Regions from separate parts of the Homo sapiens genome. Here regions 1, 3, 4, 5 and 6 are each linked to region 2. Evidence: promoter capture Hi-C in 16 types of primary human blood cells and fetal thymus (Javierre and others, 2016). All regions are on one chromosome and are shown on one strand. Each heading gives the region's core, a stretch centred on a gene start or on the middle of the fragment in contact. The rest is flanking DNA. Distances are from core to core; before and after follow the strand shown.

Region 1 (2,700 bases), core at 74-2,573, 160 kb before region 2:
CCCAGTCAAGAGAGGAGCACCGAGCCAGAGCACGGTGGCAGGGGGAGGTAAGTTTGCCCCTGCACGTGTCGAGGAAGTTTGTCCCTTCCTCGCCTATCTTTCTCTCCCCTCTGCACGTCCTCACCTGCCTGTCTTCCGTGGGCCGCGAGCAGAGGCCTTGTACTTACGGGAAGGAGGAGGCAGTCTGTTTCTGACCCACAGGAACTGCCACTCCGGTGATGCACTTGAGGACAGCTACTCTGAAATCAGTTCCCAGGAGAGAACATTTGATTTCCGAGTAGGAGAGGAGGCAGGAGGCAGGATAATGACGCTGTTATACCATGTGAAACTCGCAAGGGGGCAGCCTTGGAGCTTGGAACGGAGGCTGGCAGGAAAAGATGCTTCAGCCGGGGAGGGAAAATGCAAGGTCCCGCAGTGATGGGCAAAGGCTACGGAGTTGACTCTTGAACAACGTGGGGATGGGGTGCCGAACCCCACGCAGTGGAAAATCTGTGCATGACTTTGACTCCCCCAAAGTTCAACTACTAATAGCCTACTGTTGACCAAAAGCTTTACCCAGTATATAAACAATTGAGTAAGACATATTTGAAGCCAGGCACAGTGGCTTATGCCTGTAATCCCAGCACTTTAGGAGGCCGAGGCGGGAAGACTGCTCGAAGCCAGGAGTTCAAGAGCAGCCTGGGCAAGATAGTGAGACCCCCACCTCTACAAATAATAAAAATAAAAATAATTAGCTGGGCGTGGTGGTGCGTGCCTGTAGTCCCAGCTACTCAGGGGTCTGAGGTGGGAGGATCCCTTGAGCCCAGGATTGAGGCTGCAATGCCATGATCGCACCACTGCACTCCAGCCTGGGTGACAGAGCAAGATCCTGTCTCTGGAAAAAAAAGAAAAAAGACATATTTTGTATGTTATATATATTATGTGCTGTATTCTTACAATAAAGTAAGCTAGAGAAAAGTACATGTTACTGAAAACATTATTAGAAAGAGAAAATACCTTCACAGCACTGTGCTGTATTTATCAATACTGTAAGTTTTGTTGTCTGTTTATAAGAGAAGTTGTCTGTCTCAAGCGGCAGTAACCGCGGCTGCAGATCTCAATCTGTGGTAGATATCAAGCAGTTCAACCCTTTTTTATAATGTCATGACTTTTCTTTGCTTCTTGGAAGCAGCTCTGGCATCACTAGTGGCCCCGCATTTGGGGCCAAGGGGGTTATTCAAAGTTTACGGTATTGCATTAAACATGGTGAAACATATGCAATGACTATGAAAGATCACTTTTTACTTCTGTACACAGTGTACTGGCGAGAACTGCTCACCAGGAGGTGATTAGCTTCACGTGGTGTTGGAAGCAGATACTCAACAGTTGAGCTCACGGAGAAAGCACAGGAGGTGGCTACGAAATTATTATAGGAGTACAGTATGTCTACAGTAAATATGCACTTATGACTTTAATACTGCACATCTTTATGTTTGCTTGCATTTCTCTTGACTTCAAATGGCATCAAATAGAGTTTGTGTTTGCGTGCATATATTTTTGATAAATTTTAACTTTTTTGTTTTGTTTTGTTTTTAGACAGAGTCTTGCTCTGTCTCCCAGGCTGGAGTGCAATGGTGTGATCTTGGCTCACTGCAACCTCCGCCTCCCAGGTTCAAGCAATTCTCCTGCCTCAGCCTCCCAAGTGGCTGGGATTACAGGCACCTACCACCACACCTGGCTAATTTTTTGTATTGTAAGTAGAGATGGGGTTTCACCATGTTGGCCAGGCCTGTCTCGAACCCCTGACCTCAGTTGACCCACCCGCTTCGGCCTCCCAAAGTGCTGGGATTACAGGCGTGAACCACGGTACCCTGCCAATTTTAACTTTCTATAAGAGATTTGCCCAGCCTGGGCAACATGGAGAAACCCTGTCTTTACCAAAAATACAAAAAATTTAGCTGGGCATGGTGGCGTGTGCCTGTAGTCCCAGGTACTTGGGAGGCTGAGGTGGAAGGATGGTTTCAGCCTGGGACGCAGAGGTTGCAGTGAGCCGAGATCATGTCATTGCACTCCAGCCTGGGTAATAGAGCCAGATCCTGTCTCAAAAAAAAAAAAAAAAAAAGCTTTGTATCCATTTTGGCATACATAGACTAGTATGTATGGCAGTAAATAGACTAGTGGCAGTAAATAGACTAGTACCTACATATATTTTTTGTATTCGTGGCATACTTAACTTTTGCTTAATTTTAAAAATATATTTCTAGGCTTGTAGTTCCTCTGTAAGTTTTTTCAAATTGTTGCAAATCTCTGAAAATGTTTCCAATGTATTTATTGAAAAAAATCCACAAGTAAGTGGACCTGCACAGTTCAAACCTGTGCTATTCAAAGGTCAACTATATAGTCTGTAATACGTGATGGGTGTCACGCTGAGTGTCTACAGTGAGTGTTGTCTCACTTCAGCTTCACACAACGCTGTGGTTTAGCCTTGCCACTGCCGTACGGATGAGCGGGTGTTCACTACACGAAGGTACTGGGCAGAGGAGCAAACACTGACTAAATTCTAGCCTGTGCTTTGCTCAACAAGCCACATGCCTGCCTTGCTTGCATCAAGGGAAGGAGTATTGTGTTCTAATTTGAAGAAATACACCAGCCACTCCTTAGGCAGCACTTGGTGCGGGATGGGCTCCTCTGGAAAGGGAGCACCTAATTTGCACAAAGGTG
Region 2 (2,700 bases), core at 32-2,531:
CTGTAGCCTGCACCCAGTGGCTTCTTCATTTGTTCCCAGCCCCTTCCTCTTACCCCTTCATTCTGGTTGCTGGCTCTCACTGAACCATAGCCAGGCTGGGCCACAGCTCCCTGCAGAGAGGGTGAGACTGAGAGTAGGATCCAGAGGGACCAGGGAGGCACGCGGAGCATGTGGGCTTGGAGGGAGGGAGGTGGCAGGTAGCAGGTCTGGGGGTGACTTTACCTGAGTGTTGGTCCCAAAGTTTGGTGGCCCTCCATTGCCTCCTTGACCCCAGGGAGCTCCCTGAGGATTCATTCCAAAGCTGCCTGCTGAGTTTCCGGGGTATCCGTGGACCCACGGAGTCCCCAGACCTCCAGGATTGCCCTGGCCCTGGCCTCCAAGGCCACCTTGAGAGCCAAAGATGCCATGGCCTCCAGAAGTTTCCTGCAAGAACAACATACCTGCACTTAGTGGGACCATCTCTGACCCTGGTAGAGAAGAGCCAGGGCAAATCATAAAGAGACCAGGAGAGAGACAGGCAGAGGGACTCCAGGGTGGCATAGGAGGGGGGCAGAACATAGAAGGAAGCTGCCCCAGAAGCCTGCAAGTAAGAGATCCATCCATCCTTTCAACCGTTTCCCAAGAATCTCAGCCCAGCAGCCCACAGCCTCCCATTTCCACATGCAGCCCCACAGCCACTCACCCAAGCACCATTGTGGCCAGGCACCCCCTGCCAGGAGCCGCGGACAGCATCTGCTCCGTGTCGAATGACATCTTCTGCCTGTCTGCCAATCTCGTGCCCAGTGTTTCCCAGAGCATGGGCTGCTTCCCCGACCCTGTTGCCCAAAGCATCTGCTACGCCAAAGCCTGGAACCTGCCTGACTCCAGTGCCAACTGCTTCTCTGGTCCCTTGGCCAAGGGCCTCACTGACTTTAGAGCCAGCTGCCCCTCCGGCCTCTTTGCCAATGGCCTTTCCCACCCCTTCGCTCAGGGCGTCTCCCAGGCCATGTCCAAGGGCCTCCCCAATATTTGTCCCAGTGCTTTCCTCTCCGCTCTGCAGGGGGCCAGCCTCCCCACTGCCCAGGCAGAGGGCCAGCAGGAGGCAGGCCAGGGGCCCCTGGAACTTCATCTCTGCCCAGCCCCCTCTCTCTCCAGAGTGTCTTCCTCCCACCAGGGTCTCCTCCTTGCCGCCCTTGCTCTGCGTCTCTGTGCCCTCCTCTGTCCTCCTCCTTCCGACTCCCTGTCCTCCCTCCCTCTGGGTCTGCAGCCTTCTCTCTCCTGTCCTCAACTGCCTGGGCTTCTCAGAGTCCACCTCCCTGTCACTACTCCTTATACTCTAGGTTGGGAGAAGGTGACAGGGCTGGGCAACCTGAGGTCCCTCCCCGCAGTGACTCAGGGCCCAGCCACCAATAGGGTAATCAGCTGTTATTGTGAGTCTGAGAGTCTCTGTCGAAACAGAGAGTGAGCCGCATCAGGGAGGGAGGGAGAAATGGATGAGGTGATGCAAAAGTGCTCCCATTTCCCAACCCCAGGCATTCGGGGAGCTGGGTGGGGGCAGGGGCATCTAAGGAGACAGGTTGTCGTTGGCTCCTGGAGGCGGTGGGGTGGGGGCAGACTTAGAAGAGAGGAGTTACTGGCAGGACCCCACCAAAGGAGTAAGGACAGGGAAGCCCCAGGGGACAGGACCCACCCAGGCTCAGCCAGCCTGGCTCAGGGGCTCCAGAGTGACAGGCATTGCCCGTCCTCGGCCTGGCCTTTCTCGGTTTCAGCACCTCAGCCTCTCCTCTCCCTCTCCCCTCCCGCATTGCCACCTACAGGTGACTGCCTTCTTGTTCCTCCACACCTTCCAGCCCACAGAGAGAGACTGGCAAACACGGGGCTGCGTGTCAGTTTCTGAGATTCTGGGGAGAGCCCCCGGGGGGACCCTCGGTGTCGGGGAAGGAGGTGGCCATAGCCCTTTGAGTGGTCAGCAGGGTGTCTCAGCGTTCAGGCTGCTCCCGGCTGAGAAAGCTGGGCGCGGAGCAGGGCAGCCAGGCGCGCCAGCCACCCCCAGGGAACGAGTGGGAGGGAAGGCCAAGGGAGGGAGCCGCTGACCCAGGCACCCATCCTGTTTACGCAGCCCTAGAGGGGCACGTGTGAGTATAAGCGCCTATGAGGGGCGGGACTGGGCCAGCTCACCCCACCCATCCCCCAGGCCAGGGGCCAGGGCAGCAATGGCAAGCGAGAAGAGGGTAGCGCAAGGTCAGGAGCCATCCGTGAGAGCCACGGCCCTCTCCCCAGTCCCAGCTCGGGATACAGAACCTGGGAGCCTCCCCCCGCCTCACCCCTGCCCAGCAAGTGTGGCTGCTTCTCTATTCCCAGGGGCCACAGGGCCTCCCACTGTTTCGTATCACTGGGGTTCATCGCCCAGTTAGGAGGGGCCAGTTTCCATCAGCCTTTCTCAATGTCTCTCAGTCAGTCTCTCTCTTCTCTCCACCCCAATATCCGCACCCCAGCTTATAACATCCAACACTTCTTACCTTGTAAACACTATCCCCATCTGTCCTCCTCAGCTCCTACTTCCCTGTTATTCCATCTCTGACTCGTTAATGATGATAATAGCGATGGTGGTAATAATAATAATAATAATAATAATAATTACAGCTCCAGCTTATCAGCGGTTCTGTATGTACCCAGCATTGGACTAAGCACAAGCAGTTTAAGAATTATACAACTCTGGGA
Region 3 (2,700 bases), core at 129-2,628, 200 kb before region 2:
CCTCGCGTTGGCTCCGGGCCACCCTCAGACCTGATTTTGCCCCTGCAGTCGCCCCTGTGCTCCTCCTGGAGTCCCACTGCGCGGCAGCCCGAGACACGGTGCAGTGCCTGTGCGTGGTGAAGTCCAACCCGGAGCCGTCCGTGGCCTTTGAGCTGCCATCGCGCAATGTGACCGTGAACGAGAGCGAGCGGGAGTTCGTGTACTCGGAGCGCAGCGGCCTCGTGCTCACCAGCATCCTCACGCTGCGGGGGCAGGCCCAGGCCCCGCCCCGCGTCATCTGCACCGCGAGGAACCTCTATGGCGCCAAGAGCCTGGAGCTGCCCTTCCAGGGAGCCCGTGAGTGGCGTGGACTTGGGGTGGGAGCCACAGGAGGGAGCGGGCACGTCTTAGATCCAAGCTCCCAAGGCTGACCAACAGCCACAGAGCATGGGCTATGCAGATTGACAGAAAGGTCAAATTCTCCCTTTCCGGTTGGAGAGGAGAAGCCGCCCTGAGTTTGCCCCGAGTTTGCTAGGACCTTTGAGGCATGAGCCCCTCCCCAGGGCCCTCTAGCATGAAAGGGATTGCCCTGGCACGAGGAGGCTCCGTGCCAATCAGTCAGTGCAAGGATGCCCCGGCTGTGTGACTACATTGACTGTCATCCCAGCATGTCTCCAAAGTTCTCAGGTGTCGTCACCACCACCCATAGCCCTAAGGGCGCCTGGGTCTTTTCTGTCCTCAGATCGACTGATGTGGGCCAAGATCGGGCCTGTGGGCGCCGTGGTCGCCTTTGCCATCCTGATTGCCATCGTCTGCTACATTACCCAGACACGCAGGAAGTGAGTGCCAGCTGGGGCTGATCTGGGGATGGGAGTCTCCAAAAAGGGGACCTGGTGGGAGATGGAGGCCCAGAGTGGGTGGGGGAAGGCAGCACCATAAGTGTAGAGAAGGCAGATTCTGTTCTGGGAATGTTCAGCTGGACAGAGGAGAGAGGGTTCCTGTTAATTCCAGCCCCTGCTGGTCAGGGGCACACCAGGGCCTGGGCTGAGCCCTTTACACACATCATTTGAGACCTGTTTGCCCACATTCTATTTTGACAGCCTCCCTATCTCTAGGAACTCTCCCCTACACACTCCAGTGTGGTGGGGAAAGCCCAGGTACCCCACTGCAGCCACAGCAGCAGGTCCACTTGACGCCAGAAGCCCCAAAGATTACACACATCTGGGGCAAAAAAAAAATAGGCCTTGGCCGGGCGCGTTGACTCACGCCTGTTATCCCGCACTTTAGGAGGCCAAGGAGGAAGGATTGCTTGAGGCCAGGAATCTGACACCAGCCTGGGCAACATAGCAAGACCACATCTCTAAAAAAAATTTTTTTTTAATTAGCCAGGCATGGTGGCACACACTGTAGTCCCAGCTACTTGGGAGGCTGAGGTGGAACGATTCTTGAGCTCAGGAATTAGAGGCCAGCCTGGGCAACATAGGGAGACCCCATCTACAAAAAAACAAAAAAATTAGCTACTAGTGGCACGTGCCTGTTGTCCCAGCTACTCGGGAGGCTGAGGAGGGAAGATCGCTTGAGCCTGGGAGGTTGAGGCTGTAGTGAGCTATGATTTCACCACTGTACTCCAGCCTAGGTGACAAAGAGAGACCCTGTCTCTAAAAACAAACAAACAGACAGACAGACAGACAGAAAGCCTCTCCAGCCCCAAACCATACCCACCTGGCCCAACTCAGCTGCAGCCGTGTTTCTTTCTTGTGGCACACACACATCAGCTGTCCTGAGAAATAAATTAACCCCTCTGCTCCACATCCTGGTGGCAAGAGGGGCAGAAAGACCCAGAGCCTATGAGGGGAACCTGGAGAATCCAGGTGGGGGTCCTGAAAAACGGCAGAGCTCAGGGGCCAGGTGGCTCGTCCCCAGCCGGGCAGGGGCCACAGAGGTGGGAAGGATGGGCTGTGTGGGTAGGAGAGGCTGGTGGTTCTGAAAGGGCTGCTTGCCACATCTTAGAGATGGGTGGGAGAACTCTGAGGTCCCCTGAGCCAAACTCCTAAAACACGTGGGGGTGCAGAAAGGGAGGGCAGAGAGAGGTCTGACGAGTCCTGCCCTGCAGAAAGAACGTGACAGAGAGCCCCAGCTTCTCGGCAGGGGACAACCCTCCCGTCCTGTTCAGCAGCGACTTCCGCATCTCTGGGGCACCAGAGAAGTACGAGGTAAGGACCAGGCTCCAGGCTGGCCTGGGAACCTGGATGCCAGGGACACTGAAGGCCTGGGAAAGGCCTGTGAGGCCAAGGGGCAGGGGAGTGGGAGCGGCCTCTCACAGGAGGAGAGGAAGGACATTCCAGGGCTGGGTTGGACCTGGAGGCTGGGGAGGAGGTGCCCAGGCCGAAGCTGTGTAGGGGGCGATGGGACGTGGGGCCTAAGGGCCCCCTCCCCTCCCTGCCTGTGTCTGTGACTGCATTTCCTTCTCCAATAGTCCAAAGAGGTTTCTACCCTGGAATCTCACTGAGTGCCCCAGGAGGTAGGTTCCGGGGGCCTCAGTGTGCCCTCCTCTGGGCCCTCCTTGGGCCCTGGGGTTGGCGTGCATGTCCGTGTGTCCCTGTCAGGCGTCAAGGTGGTCTCTGGTGATGTCCGGGCCTGCCCGGCAGTGCTGGCCTTGTCTAGTCTGTCCTGTTGCAGCTCCCTTCTGTCTGTGGCCACCGTCCTGTGTGTCCAAATTCC
Region 4 (2,700 bases), core at 195-2,694, 180 kb after region 2:
TCTTGAAGAATATGTTTTGAGGTCTAATTCCTCTCTAGCAGGTGAAATGTTTGAAGGCAGGGGCTGGGTCTTCCCCAGGGCTCAGCACCAATGGCATGCACCATCAGAATTTTTTGTTTTGTTTTTTTGAGATGGAGTTTCGCTCTTGTCACCCAGGCTGGAGTGCAGTGACCCAATCTCAGCTCACTACAACCTCTGCCTCCTAGGTTCAAGCGATTCTTGTGCCTCAGCCTCCTGAGTAGCTGGGATTACAGGCGCCCGCCACCATGCCCGGCTAATTTTTGTATTTTTAGTAGAGATGGGGTTTTGCCATGCTGGCCAGGCTGGCCTCCAACTCCTGACCTCAAGTGATTAGCCAACCTTGGCCTCCCAAAGTGCTGGGATTACAGGTGTGAGCCACTGCGCCTGGCCAGGAGTTTAATAAATATTTGAGTGAAAGTAAGTTTCTTGACCTTGACGCATGGGCCCTAGAGAGCTAGAAGACCTGAATTCTAAGCTTCATTCCTGTGCAACTGTGGACACTGAGCCTCAAATGTAATCATGGTCTGGGGTTTTTCCAGAGATCAAAGCTTGGGGAAAGTCCTTTGTTCTCTGAAAGGTACAGGGTTATTTTCACATCTGTTATGAACACTCGTGCCGTTGAGCTGAGCTCCTGAGTCTTAGTCAGCTGCCTGGCTCCAGGTGGACTTCCTGCTGTACCTCAGATATACTAAGCTCACTCCTGCCTTGGGGCTTTTGCGCTTGCTACTGCTTCTGGGAACACACTGCCCCCAGGCTTTCCCATGATCCCTTAATTTTCAGGGTCTACACCACAGCCAAGGCAGATGACACTGATTGCAAGGAAACAACTCGGTTACAGGGCATTGGGGAACAGAAGAAATGCCACTATTCGGCTCACGCCTGTAATCCCAGCACTTTAGGAGGCCGAGGTAGGTGGATCACAAGGTCAAAAGATCGAGACCATCCTGGCCAACATGGCGAAAACCCGTCTCTACTAAATATACAAAAATTAGCTGGGCGTGGTGGCCCGCGCCTGTAGTCCCAGCTACTCAGGAGGCTGAGGCAGGAAAATCGCTTGAACCCAGGAGGCAGAGGTTGCAGTGAGCCGAGATCGCGCCACTGCACTCCAGCCTGGAGGGCAGACTCCATCTCAAAAAAAAAAAGAAGAAGAAATACCACTGCTCTATTAGTTCATTTAATCCCCTCAATGACTTTGAGAGGTACACACTTTTTTTCTTTTTTTTTGAGACAGGTTCTCACTCTGTCACCCAAGCTGGAGTGCAGTGTTGCAATCATGGCTCACTGTAGCTTCTACCTCCTGGGCTCAGGTGATCCTCTTACCTCAGCCTCCCCAGTAGTTGGGATTACAAGTGTGTGCCACCACACCTGGCTAATTTTTGTATTTTTTGTAGCCATGGGGATTCGCCATGTTGCACAACCTGGTCTTGAACTCCTGAGTCCAAGCAATCCTCTCACCTCAGCCTCCCAAAGTGCTGGGATTACACATGTGAGCTACCACGACCGGGAGTATGTACCTTTTTTTTTTTTTTGAGATGACGTCTCGCTCCGTCACCCAGGCTGGAGTGCAGTGGTGCAATCTCAGTTCACTGCAACCTCCCCCTCCCAGGTTCAAGCGATCCTCCTGCCTCAGCCTCCCGAGTAGCTGGGATTACAGGTGCCTGCCACCACACCCAGCTAATTTTTGTATTTTTAGTAGAGATGGGGTTTCACCGTGTTGGCCAGGCTGGTCTTGAACTCTTGACCTCAGGTGATCTGCCTGCCTCGTTCTCCCAAAGCGCTGGGATTACAGGCATGAGCCACTGCACTCAGCCACTCAGCCCTTTTTTTTTTTTTTTTTTTTTTTTGAGACATAGTCTCACTCTGTTGCCCTGGCTGGAGTGCAGTGGCATGATCTCAGCTCACTGCAACCTCTGCCACCTGGGTTCAAGCGATTCTCACGCCTCAGCCTCCCGAGTAGCTGGGATTACAGGCTTGTATTTTTAGTAGAGACAGGGATTCACCATGTCGGCCAAGCTGGTCTCGAACTCCTGACCTCAGGTGATCCGCCCACCTCGGCTTCCCAAAGTGCTGGAATTACAGGTGTGAGCCACCATGCCTGGCCAATATGTACTATTAATATGCCCATTTATGATATGACCATTTAATATGCCCAGATGAAGAGATTAAGGCCCAGAGGGGTTAAGCAATTTGCCAAAGGTCTCACAACTAGTAAATAACAGGGCCAGGATATGATGCAGACAGTTTGGATCCAGCATTCAGCTACCTAGGCTGCAAGGCTCTCTGCTTCTCAGTGTACAGTTAAGCTTAGTTAGTGTAGGATCTGGCATGGGGAGTTGCTCAATAAGCAACTGAAGGCAGGGGCTTTTTATTTATTTTTCTACTTCTTTCAGACATTTAACTCTCCAAATCTTACAGTCCAACCCCCCAAGCCAAGCCAACAACCCTTCCTATACCATCTTGCCAGAGCCCAGGGTCCCTCACTCCATCTTCTCATGCCTTCCTGGCCCATAAAAAGGATTCAATAATTTGTAGTAATTAGCTGGGCATGTTGGCATGTGCCTGTAGTCCCAGCTCCTCAGAAGGCTGAGGCAGGAGGATCGCCGAGGCTAGGAGTTTGAGGCCACAGTGTGCTACGATCGCACCTGTGAATAGCCACTGCACTCCAGCCTGGGCAACACA
Region 5 (2,700 bases), core at 156-2,655, 220 kb after region 2:
GAGAAATCCCCTAAATAGCTCATAACATACAGTGTACTTGGCTCTGTGCATGTGAGCCTATATAATAATATATTTGTAGCTGGGCACAGTGGCTCACGCCTGTAATCCCAGCACTTTGGGAGGCCGAGGCGGGCGGATCACCTGAGGTCAGCCTGGCCAACATGGTGAAACACCATCTGTACTGAAAATACAAAAATTAGCCGGGCGTGGTGGTGGGCGCCTGTAATCTCAGCTACTCGGGAGACTGAGGCAGGAGAATTGCCTGAATCTGAGAGGCACAGGTTGCAGTGAGCCGAGATCACACCATTGCATTCCAGCCTGGGAGACAGAACGAGACTTTGTCTCAAAAAATGATAATTTTATGTTTGTAACAGTTACAGAAATTTGCTGCATCTAAAAAAAATAGATGTGCAAAATACAATTCTCCAGTATTTTAAATTTTGTGTGAGAAACAGAATAATGACAGGTAGATGGGATGTATGGTACACTGGGTTTGAGTGAGCCATAGGCGTGTCCTGAAGAGCCAAAAGGCCCCAAGCCTCTGTGGAATGCTTTTGTACCCAAGAAGTCCTGCAGAAGAGGAGCCGCAGGCTCCTTAGGGGAAGAAATGTCCATTCTGCAGGGCTCACTGGGTAACTGGAGCAGAAGGAGGGCCATTAGACCCTAGTATCTGTGTCTGCGCCTAGGGGTGGAGAGAGTGGTGTCTGCTGGGAGCACAGCGGGGCTCAGGGGCTTTTGAGTCCGGGAAGGGTGATCTTCACTCCAACCTGCTTCTTGGGACCAGGTGAGGCTTCGAGCTCTGAGGAAGAGCCTCCATCCCCAGATGATAAAGAGAACCAGGCCCCAAAACGGACTGGCCCACATCTGCGCTTCGAGATCAGCAGTGAGGATGGGTTCAGCGTTGAGGCAGAGAGCTTGGAGGGTGAGTGGGGGGAGTGCAGTGGCAGGAGGGAGAGTGTCCATAAAACACCATCCTGACTCAGCTCTGGCTCTGCTGTCTCCCCAGGGGCGTGGAGAACTCTGATCGAGAAAGTGCAAGAGGCCCGAGGGCATGCCCGACTCAGACATCTCTCCTTTAGTGGTAAGGAGTGGGCCCCACAGGGGGCAGGGAGCTGGATGTCTCCCCGAGGGCACCATGGGCCCTCCACATGACAGGTGTGTCCTCAACATCTCCCCTCAGGAATGAGTGGGGCGAGACTCCTGGGCATCCACCATGATGCTGTCATCTTCCTGGCCGAGCAGCTCCCCGGAGCCCAGCGTTGCCAGCACTATAAGTTCCGTTACCACCAGCAGGGAGAGGGCCAGGAGGAGCCGCCCCTGAATCCCCATGGGGCTGCTCGGGCAGAGGTCTATCTCCGGTGAGAGGTCTGGGGTGTGATGCCTGGGTCAGGGCGCCCCTATGAGAGCTCTTGAGGGTGGGAGTTAACTGTAGAGGTTGGAAACTGAGGCCTGGGGAGGAGACACTAGGTCACTTGAAGAGTTATTTCTAGAGTTAGCCAGGCTCCGTGGCTCATGCCTGTAATCCCGCCACTTTGGGAGGCCGAGGCAGGAGGATCGCATGAGCCCAGGAGTTGGAGACCAGCGTAGGCAACATGGCAAAACCCCATCTCTAAAATAAAAATTTAAAAAAGTTATTTCTAGAGCTGACATCAGAAAAATGAACCCCACCCATTTCCCTGTTAGCTCTGTCTTCAACAGTATATTCCTCCTTCCCCTGCTGCCACCTGCAGGAAGTGCACCTTTGACATGTTCAACTTCCTGGCCTCCCAGCACCGGGTGCTCCCTGAGGGGGCCACCTGTGATGAGGAAGAGGATGAGGTGCAGCTCAGGTCAACCAGGTATGGAGTGTGAGCTGGGGGGCGGGTGGTGGTCTGGAAGGGTCTTAGAGAGTGAGCAGGGGTGAGAGAGGTCATTCTGAGCACCAGCCTGGGTGACACTGCTGTCCCTCACCAGACGTGCCACCAGCCTGGAGCTGCCCATGGCCATGCGTTTTCGTCACCTTAAGAAGACGTCCAAAGAAGCTGTGGGTGTCTACAGGTGAGTGGGGTTGGGGGGGAGGATGCCCCTTGGGTGGACGGACAGGTGCACTGGGTAGGGGGTACTGTCTGGTTTCTGTCCCCCTCCCCCCTGAGTTCCCTGTTCATCCTGCCCTGCAGATCAGCCATCCACGGGCGAGGCCTGTTCTGTAAGCGCAACATCGACGCGGGGGAGATGGTCATCGAGTACTCTGGCATTGTCATCCGCTCGGTGTTGACTGACAAGCGGGAGAAGTTCTACGATGGGAAGGTGGGCTCCCAGTGGCTGTGGGAAGACAGTGGGTGAAGCGAGCCTGTCCGCGGGGACAGAGCACCTGATCTCCCCACCTCATCCCTGCAGGGCATCGGGTGCTATATGTTCCGCATGGATGACTTTGATGTAGTGGACGCCACGATGCATGGCAATGCCGCCCGCTTCATCAACCACTCCTGTGAGCCCAACTGCTTCTCTCGGGTCATCCACGTGGAGGGCCAGAAACACATTGTTATCTTCGCCCTGCGCCGCATCCTGCGTGGTGAGGAGCTCACCTACGACTACAAGTTCCCCATCGAGGATGCCAGCAACAAGCTGCCCTGCAACTGTGGCGCCAAGCGCTGCCGTCGGTTCCTTAACTGAGGCCGTGGCTGCCCACCACGACCCCTCACACCTCCTGCTGCCGTCGCT
Region 6 (2,700 bases), core at 14-2,513, 200 kb after region 2:
CTCCACCACCTGACGGGGTGTCGGTAGCGTCTTAGCCAAGAGTCCAATTAAAGAACGAAAAGCGGGCCGGCTCGGCTTCTGACCTGGCACCGCTGCTACGGCGGCCTAGCAAATTCCGCCCCAGAAGCGCCCCAGGAAGGGCGCCGAGTGCCCTCTCCTGGACGATCGCGGGTCGCAGAAGCCCAGGCCAGCGAGCCCTACAGAGTGAGGACACTGAAGTGTGCAGGAGCGAAGGTTAACAGTAGGGGAGATTGTCGATCTCATCACCATAATAAAGAGTTTCCTGTGCCCTCCCTTCAGGACTAGAAAGCCGAGTTTAGTCTGTGCACACCCCCGCCCACGCCCCTTGTCCTGTAGCGGCCCCTGGTGGCCCTGCGTCCGCTGTCCAGCGGGATGGACACTTCTTCCACCCCCGAGGCGCCCCGTCCTCCCCAGGAGGCAGCCGGCCCCGAGGACTCGGTGTCCGGGCACACCTTGCGGCATGCCGGTCCTGGACTGGTGGGGGCTGTGCGACCGCAAGTCACTCGCCCCTTCCACTGCAATCCACGGCGCGCGGAGTCTGATCTGGGAACGCTCGGCCCGGGAGAGAGAGGAACGCGTGCTCCGACCCTGCTTTCGGCCACCCGCCTCCTCTCCGGGAGCACACGGACCCCGAGACCGCGGCCTCTCCGGCGTCTTCCCTCCACACCGTGCCAAGCCGCCGCCAGGTCGCGCCTGGAACGGAGACTGACTATGCTTTCCACCGCTCCTTCTCCAGCCCACGCCTCCTGCAGCCGCGAACTGCATTTCCCAGGGCCTCGGGGGTCCCGGGGCCCGAGCCCGCGGCACCCTGGGAGTGGTAGTCCACGCGGGCCGCCGGCCTAGCCAAGAACAATGGGAGGAGCCTGGGGCTAGGACCACACCTCCCGGAGACCCGGCAACCCGCTTTCCGGGTCCTGGCCGGGAACCCCGCCGTCCCGGCCCTCGCGCCCTGGCTGCCGGCGGAAGAAGCGAGGCGTCCGGACTACATTTCCCGGAGGCCCCCGCGGTTCGCCCCTCTGCGGCCGCGACGCGGGGGTCTGTGCTCCCCAGGTGCGGTCCGAGGGCGCCGGCCGGCCGCGGACTCCCTCTCCCGTGGTGCCCTGCGCGTGGCCGGCCCGGCCCCCGGTCTCCCGCGGCGGCGCTGGTTGTTGTCGTGCGCCGCGGCCGCCCCGCCCCGCCCCCGCTCTCTCCCCTCCCCCCGGCCCTGCGCACGGGCCGCCCCTCCCCCCGCCTCCCCGGCCCCTCTCACGGTGCCAAGATGGCGGCGGCGGCGGGCGGCGGCAGTTGCCCCGGGCCTGGCTCCGCGCGGGGCCGCTTCCCGGGCCGGCCGCGGGGCGCCGGCGGGGGCGGGGGCCGCGGCGGACGGGGCAACGGGGCCGAAAGAGTGCGGGTAGCTCTGCGGCGCGGCGGTGGCGCGACGGGGCCGGGCGGAGCCGAGCCCGGGGAGGACACGGCCCTGCTCCGTTTGCTGGGGCTCCGCCGGGGCCTGCGCCGGCTCCGCCGCCTGTGGGCCGGCCCGCGGGTCCAGCGGGGCCGGGGACGGGGTCGGGGCCGGGGCTGGGGCCCGAGTCGAGGCTGCGTGCCGGAGGAGGAGAGCAGTGACGGGGAATCCGACGAGGAGGTGAGGCGGTTGGAGGCGTCCCCGGCGCCGGGTGGGGCGGAGGCCGGGGCTTCCAGGGGTCTGGGTTGTCCCGGGGGCGGCGTGGGCAGGCCGGGTCCTCAGGGTTCCTTCGGAGAGACGGGGCACGGAGGGAGGGCGGCTGCATGCAGCTTCCGGGGGAAAGGGCCTCTGGAAGTGGGTAGAGAAGCCCCGGCTGCAGCCAGGCACTCGCGCCCGATGTCGGTCCCGCTGAAGTGTCTTGGGCCGATCCTTTTCGGCAGCTGGCAAAGCTAGGGCGGTGGAGGTTTGGGCGAGGAGGCAGTGGGGACTGCATGTCCAGCCAGTCGTGGTTGACAGCGGCAGCGTGGCCTTGGCAGACAGGTTGGAGCTGTCTGGGCTCTTACCTGTGGGCCGCCCCGCCGGGCCTCGCAACCTCCTGGTTTCTCCAGGGCCCCAGTTTCTCTTGGCATCTCAGGTAGAGTGGTGGAGGGCTTCCTCTTGGGGCTCGGGTTGAACAGGAGTGGGATGAAGGCCGGGACTGGGCACTCTAGCAGGTCAGAGCTCAGCTCAGGATTTCTCCCCCAGCCTTTCAGAACAGGCAGGAAGGTGTGGGTTGCGTTGCCCTGGACGGTTAATAACAACCTGAGAGCTCGCAGTGGAGCCTGTACGAAAGCCATCTGATGCCCTCCCCGCCCCTTCACTTGCGGGCCCCTGTTCCCAACTTAATGCAGAAATAAATTGTGGCCCGAAAGGGTGTCAGTGGAGGTCCCACTTTGGTCTGAATTGGACTCTGAAGGAATCTGAGTATGGGGCCTGCTGCCTTTCCTGAGGAGACCCTGTCGTCTTCTCTCTTGGGCCAGTGAACCATGGCTTTGGCTGTGCTGGTGTGGTCCGGCACTGGGGATCGGAGTTCGAAATACCTGGCGCCTCCATCCCTAGGGAGAGACCCTCTCTTCCACTACCCGCGACCTTTGAGTCTTTTTCGTTCTTTTTAAATAGGCAGGGGTATGCTAAGTGGGAACTGGGGATATTCCTCGATACCTCAGATGGAACGAGGGCTTTGGCACTGACTGCTGTTT

Evidence for each region. Contacts are between HindIII fragments. The CHiCAGO score rates a contact against its expected background, and 5 or more counts as called.
Region 1: a fragment that was not itself captured here is called in contact with the fragment with the promoter of DMKN in region 2 in 16 of 17 cell types (M0 macrophages, megakaryocytes, M1 macrophages and 13 more); the score reaches 16.3 in M0 macrophages.
Region 3: a fragment that was not itself captured here is called in contact with the fragment with the promoter of DMKN in region 2 in 6 of 17 cell types (neutrophils, total B cells, megakaryocytes and 3 more); the score reaches 8.3 in neutrophils.
Region 4: a contact is called between a fragment that was not itself captured here and the fragment with the promoter of DMKN in region 2, in 5 of 17 cell types (monocytes, megakaryocytes, naive B cells and 2 more). The highest score is 6.7, in monocytes.
Region 5: a fragment that was not itself captured here is called in contact with the fragment with the promoter of DMKN in region 2 in 1 of 17 cell types (monocytes); the score reaches 6.4 in monocytes.
Region 6: a contact is called between the fragment with the promoter of KMT2B here and the fragment with the promoter of DMKN in region 2, in 2 of 17 cell types (neutrophils and monocytes). The highest score is 11.0, in neutrophils.

What each region holds. Positions count from the first base shown.
Region 1 is chr19:35,352,610-35,355,309 of GRCh38, forward strand. It overlaps FFAR1 (free fatty acid receptor 1), which reads left to right. Exons shown (of 2, transcript NM_005303.3): 2 at 1-1,255. Among named protein-coding and RNA genes, the nearest start is that of FFAR3, 4.5 kb to the right of the region's middle. RefSeq lists an enhancer at 1-443 and a silencer at 2,420-2,519. The HindIII fragment of the contact is 1,553 bases long and covers 548-2,100 here.
Region 2 is chr19:35,512,368-35,515,067 of GRCh38, forward strand. DMKN (dermokine) reads right to left here and starts at 1,282. Exons shown (of 16, transcript NM_033317.5): 1 at 683-1,282; 2 at 223-423; 3 at 54-110. The coding sequence starts at 1,108. The HindIII fragment of the contact is 13,607 bases long and covers 1-2,700 here.
Region 3 is chr19:35,309,826-35,312,525 of GRCh38, forward strand. MAG (myelin associated glycoprotein) reads left to right here. Exons shown (of 11, transcript NM_002361.4): 8 at 49-336; 9 at 722-818; 10 at 2,093-2,192. Among named protein-coding and RNA genes, the nearest start is that of CD22, 18 kb to the right of the region's middle. RefSeq lists enhancers at 1,621-2,122, 2,123-2,622. The HindIII fragment of the contact is 3,088 bases long and covers 1-2,700 here.
Region 4 is chr19:35,696,419-35,699,118 of GRCh38, forward strand. No RefSeq gene overlaps it. Among named protein-coding and RNA genes, the nearest start is that of ZBTB32, 6.8 kb to the right of the region's middle. The HindIII fragment of the contact is 1,755 bases long and covers 568-2,322 here.
Region 5 is chr19:35,735,906-35,738,605 of GRCh38, forward strand. KMT2B (lysine methyltransferase 2B) reads left to right here. Exons shown (of 37, transcript NM_014727.3): 31 at 785-922; 32 at 1,007-1,081; 33 at 1,181-1,358; 34 at 1,731-1,838; 35 at 1,954-2,037; 36 at 2,157-2,286; 37 at 2,377-2,700. The coding sequence ends at 2,652. Among named protein-coding and RNA genes, the nearest start is that of IGFLR1, 5.2 kb to the right of the region's middle. The HindIII fragment of the contact is 3,993 bases long and covers 1-2,700 here.
Region 6 is chr19:35,716,740-35,719,439 of GRCh38, forward strand. KMT2B (lysine methyltransferase 2B) reads left to right here and starts at 1,264. Exons shown (of 37, transcript NM_014727.3): 1 at 1,264-1,642. The coding sequence starts at 1,280. It overlaps ZBTB32 (zinc finger and BTB domain containing 32), which reads left to right. Exons shown (of 7, transcript NM_014383.3): 7 at 1-299. The coding sequence ends at 13. RefSeq lists enhancers at 1-376, 1-208, 1,496-2,053 and silencers at 779-1,258, 1,339-1,388, 1,409-1,478, 1,519-1,598, 1,649-1,698. The HindIII fragment of the contact is 14,363 bases long and covers 1-2,700 here.